Regions from separate parts of the Homo sapiens genome. Here region 1 is linked to region 2. Evidence: promoter capture Hi-C in 16 types of primary human blood cells and fetal thymus (Javierre and others, 2016). All regions are on one chromosome and are shown on one strand. Each heading gives the region's core, a stretch centred on a gene start or on the middle of the fragment in contact. The rest is flanking DNA. Distances are from core to core; before and after follow the strand shown.

Region 1 (2,700 bases), core at 117-2,616, 310 kb before region 2:
AATACGCAAGAGACCAAAATAGATTTATTACTTCTTTGGGGGGCTGAGACAAAGTTTACCTTGAACCTCAAAAAGAACCTAAGCCAATAACACACTAGACTAAGTAGAAAGAGTCATCTAAAATACTAGAATGCCCCAACAGCCTTCTGAGAATAGAGAATAAACAAACTTAAAAGTGCTTTTCCTACATTCTCATTCAACAATCAACAAAGACTTCTTTGACCAAATGTATGAGAGTTCTCCCCACACACACCAAGCAAGCAATTCTGCAATGAACACCAGCTAGGTGCCCTCCAATTCAATTCTGACACTGGAAGAGAGCATCAGATCCCACAGACTGAGTGCTCAGTCTCACAAGACTGCCCCCCACTTCCCATGCCAATCACAAATCTCAGGTTAACATTTGCTCTGACCCAACCACCATAAATCGGGGCTCACACAACCCCCTTCTTGGGTTCCATTAATTTGCTTGAGCAGCTCACAGAACTCAGGGAAACACGTTTACTGGTTAATTATAAAGGACATAACAAAGGACACCAATGAACACCAGATGAAGAGATGGAGGGGGCAAGGTAGGGCTAAGAGTGCAGAGCTTCTAGGTTCTTTCTGGGCATGCCAACCTCCAGGAACCTCCATATGTTTTGCTGTCTAGAAGCTTCCCAAAACCAGTCCTTTTGGATTTTTATGGAAGTTTCGTTATGAAGGCATAATTAATTAAACCACTGGCCACTGGTGTTCAGTTTACCCCTTCAGCTCTTCTCCCTTCCCCAGAGGTTAGATGGTAGGGCGGAAAGTCACAACCTCTAGTCCTGCCTTATTCTTTCCAGTGACCAGCCCCCATCCTTAGGCTACCCAGGGGATGCCAACCATCAGTCAACTCATTAGCATACAAAATGACACTTATCACCTTGAAGACCCAAGGATTTTTGAAGTAGTATGCCAGGAAATGGGACAGAGACCAAATAGAGATTTCATAATACCATAGCCTTCTCTCTGGACCTCTTCTATATCTGTACTTGCTGCTCTATCTTACTAGACTTACTTCCCTATCTACACTCTCTCTCTAGTTGATCTCTTCCAGCTTCCTGGCTCTAAAAACAATCCATATACTAGACACGCTATGGTGATTGCTGAACAACTCTATGAATATACTAAAACAATTGAATTGTACACTTTAAATGAGTATATTTTTTGTGAATTATATCTTTAAAAAAGATTTCTTAAAATAGACATCCCAAACCTAACACATCCAAAACTAAATTTCTCATCTTCTTCCCAAAATCTGCTCCACTCACAGCCTTCCCCATATCAATAAATGTCAACTCTTATCTTTCTAGTTGCTCAAGCTAAAAAAAAAAAAAAAAAAAAAGTCATTCTTGATTATTCTCCTCCTCTCTCACCCCACATTTAATCCACCTAGAAATCTGGCTGGACCTACTTTCAAAATAGATCTAGAATTAAATTACTTATCACTTCCGCTGGCCATAACCTGGTCCAAGCCATCAATATTTTACACTGGATTACAATAGCCATCTAATTGGTATCCCTGTTCCAGCAGAAACAAGAATAACCTTTTAAAAACAAACGAGTGCCAGGCGTGGTGGCTCACGCCTGTAATCCCAGCACTTTGGGAGGCTGAGGCGGGCGGATCACTTGAGGTCAGGAGTTCGAGACCAGCGTGACCAATATGATGAAACCCTGTCTCTACTAAAAATACAAAAATTAGCTGGGCATGGTGGCATGCACCTGTAATCCCAGCTACTCAGGAGGCTGAGACAGGAGAATCGCTTGAACCCGGGAGGCAGAGGTTGCAGTGAGCCGAGATGGTGCCATTGCACTCCAGCCTGAGCAACAGAGCAAAATTCCGTCTCAAAAAAAAAAGAAAAAAAAAGAGTTCATCTCCTTTTGCTTAAATGGCTCACCATCTCACTCTGAATAAAAACCAAAGTCCTTACAATGCCTATAAAACCCTTGGTGAATCCCATTTCACCCCTCCCCAACACCACCCACCATAATCTCTTTGAACTCATCCACTAATCTTCATTTTAACAACTCCTTTCCAGTCACAGAAGCTTTCTTGCTGCTCCCTAAACTCACCAGGCACACTCTAACCTCAGGACTTTTGTTTTTTCTGTTCACTTAGTCTTGAACATGCCCACCTCATACCCTCATGTCTATATTGCTTAATATCATACCTCCTTACTCAGATGTCACCTTCTCAGTGAGGCCTTCCCTTACCATTTAATGTAAAACTGCAAACCCCTCTGTTTCCCCCTTCCCTGCTTTCTATTTCTCTAGAGCATTTATCGCCTTCTATTATGTTTAATATTTTACTTATCTGTTTGCTGTCTGTCTCCCCTTACTAGAGTATATGCTGTCTTTGTGTGTGTGTGTGTCTGTGTGTGTGTGTGTGTTTCTTTTTTCAGACGGAGTCTCACTCTGTTGCCCAGGCTGGCATGATCATGGCTCACTGCAACCTCTGCCTCCCGGGTTCAAGCAATTCTCCTGCCTCAGCCTCCCAAGTAGCTGGGACCACAGGTGTGCACCACCAAGCCCGGCTAAATTTTAAGCTCTGTGAAGGCAAAAAATTTTGTTCATTTTGTTCTCCTGCTGTATCCCCTGTGCCTAAACAATGCCTGGCACAGTAGGTGTTTGATAAATATTGAAAAAACTGAATGGAAACTAGGGATTTATAAACAA
Region 2 (2,700 bases), core at 52-2,551:
ATGGTGTTCAATGTGACAGATACGGAGGTTAATCCAGGAATAAAGTAATGTGGGTCTCCGTTAAGAGTAGTTCATTAGTGGCAATGGGAATGGCTGTGAACCTAAAAAACATCTTGAAGGAAGAACTGGCTGTAAGGGGTCAACTGAAATATGGAAACAAAACAAGAAAAATGAAGGTTATAACACTGATGAACCAGGATAATTATGATGCCACAAATTATGATAATACAAATTTATTTTGCCTTCTTAATGCTTTCAGATCAGAGTGTTCTGCATCTGCCTGGGCAGATGGAAGCTCAGTTTATGCAGTACCTTTGTAGGTCGAAGAAAACAAATTGCCTTCAGGTGTTTCATGATCTCTCGATTTTGAGAATCAATGCGTTCAAAGAGGTACACTTCCTTCTGTAGAATCTCCGATTGTGTGTATACCATACTCACTATGCCAGTCTGTAAAAACAAAAGATTAACTAAAAGTATGCTAGTCTAGAATAATAAAAACAAGTAGCACATCTAACCCTCTTTTTTCATTAATACTTAGCTGGATAACTTAAATAGTAATATACGGAAAACATTTACTGAACATCCAAACAGGTAGGTAACATACGAGAATGAAAAATACGCTCTATCCTTTCAGCTGAAGCTTCAAGATTAAAAACAAAAAACATGGTCTCTTTGAACAGGAACAATCCATAAGTTTCCAAAAATATTTTTTTCTATCACCTTAAAGAGTTTTGTTTTCTGGTCTGTGGCCAACAAATAATCTGTCATTTCAGCTTGAGCTCCAACAGCTTTACTTTAAAAACACAATGTTGAGTGGAAACAGTAGGCCCATCCCAAAGCCTTCCAAGTGCTCTGACATATTAATGATTTCTTGGCGGGGACATTTAGAAAAGGATTTCTGATTCCAATAAATTGTTCCGGGTAGAAGTAGTCTCTAGGCAGTGGCTGGAGCCATGTAGACTGAAAACCCACCGGGCAAGCTTTATATAAACAACTTTTCAATTCCACACAAACCGACCCTCATTTTCGTATGTTTAATTAAATGCTAAGTCCTACAGTGGAATGGGACGAGCAATTGTAAGGTTGAGAGGGTTCCTTCACAAATGCTGAGCAAAAGCAAACTCACCGTCTCTTTATCCATGAGAAGTACTTTCATACCAGGCCCGCTGTCCTCTATCATTTTGGAAATGTACTGCTTCACAGCAAAAACCACGTTCATGGCGGCGAATTGACAAGTACCCTACAGCCCTTCCCGCCCCCTTTTCTGGCTAAATTAACCCCCAGTCTGTTGGCCGGGTCTCAGCTGCTTCCTCCCAGCCGGGATTCGGCTTCCGGGAGTCCGGGCAGCCACGGTGCTGGGAGTTGTAGTTCCGCTGGAGTGTACAGGGGACCAAGCCTACCCCGGGGATGGAAAAATCCGGCTGAGACGGCCTGGGCCGCTGCCACGCGCGGGCGTTATTCTCCACCCACCTGCGGCCTGAAGATGCCTGAGGCCCGGACTCTCAGACCCCTATTGCCCTTTGGTGCTGGAGGCCCAGCGGCAGCCTGAAGCCCAAGAGAGTGGAGCCTCGCGAAATGAGGAACCTGGCACAAGGTTTGCTTGGAAGCAGGAACGACGGAGTGTGGCTACGTGCCCTATTTGCCATTAACGCTTTCTTGCATGGCAGTGAGAGATGAGGGCAAGGGAGGTGGCATAATGCTCCCGGCCGCTTGGGACTCGGAGAGACGGCATTTAATAAATCACACGCGGTATTTGCGAAACAGTGGTCGAGATTCGTCTTCCCGGGTTCATTGCGTCATTAATAGGCGGGAACAGTGCCCCTGTGTTGAGGCTGCAGAGGCCCTAATTGGTTTTCCCAAGACAGAGGGGCATATGAGATTGAACAAATATTTGTTGAATGAATGAACAAAGGGAACGCCTTTTAGGGATGTTTCTGGGGGAAAGGCCTGAGGTTCTCCAGGAGGGTCTGCAGCTAGGGTCGGCCGTGGGGGCTCGCAGCCCGCGGGACCACCGGACCTGCAAGCGTCCCCCTGCCCCGCCCCCGCCTCGGCGCTCTGAGCAATTGGACTCTGCCAGCTCTAACTCCGGCGGGACTCTGAAACTCAGGCAAGAGCCGAGGTGACTGGGTCCTTTGAAATGGGTAGGGGACACGTATCCGGTAGAACTAAAACTAGCGTGGGGATTTGAAGCCAAAACTCTCAAGTTTTTACTGAATCTTAAAACCATCAACTTCCAAATGTCTGCATTTGTCTTTACACCACACAGGTCTCCCCTCTATCATGGCATTTGTCGAAAAGGAGGGTAGATGTTTGTTTTTCGCACCTTTACTTTGGGGAATTGTAAAATCAGGAAGATAATAAGAAACAATTGTTAGAAATCAGTAACTAAAAATGCTTATGAATATTTCCACCAAAATAATGACCAGTGTTTGTGAGGTCAATAGATTCAGGATTACCAAATAAATTCTTTCATTATATTTTAAGAAGTACACAGTTAAAATAGACCAATAGCACTTTAACATTAATCAGCTTAAGATTATGCAATATTATATATAATTCTCAAATCCCTTAAGGGAGATCAGAAACTACTGAAATATAAGAGATTTTTGTCACCTCTGAAATTGTGAAGAATATGTTTTTTTTCTTTCAGCTTTTCTACCAAGTAAATAAAGCTTCCCTTTAGGCATTTTACTAATTTTT

Evidence for each region. Contacts are between HindIII fragments. The CHiCAGO score rates a contact against its expected background, and 5 or more counts as called.
Region 1: a contact is called between a fragment that was not itself captured here and the fragment with the promoter of VPS45 in region 2, in 2 of 17 cell types (M2 macrophages and fetal thymus). The highest score is 5.8, in M2 macrophages.

What each region holds. Positions count from the first base shown.
Region 1 is chr1:150,372,203-150,374,902 of GRCh38, reverse strand. All of the region lies in intron 1 of RPRD2 (regulation of nuclear pre-mRNA domain containing 2), which reads right to left. Among named protein-coding and RNA genes, the nearest start is that of RPRD2, 9.4 kb to the right of the region's middle. The HindIII fragment of the contact is 1,417 bases long and covers 658-2,074 here.
Region 2 is chr1:150,066,377-150,069,076 of GRCh38, reverse strand. VPS45 (vacuolar protein sorting 45 homolog) reads right to left here and starts at 1,301. Exons shown (of 15, transcript NM_007259.5): 1 at 1,127-1,301; 2 at 313-447. The coding sequence starts at 1,219. It also overlaps a transcript of OTUD7B not described here. RefSeq lists an enhancer at 1,345-1,674 and a silencer at 1,885-2,124. The HindIII fragment of the contact is 1,692 bases long and covers 983-2,674 here.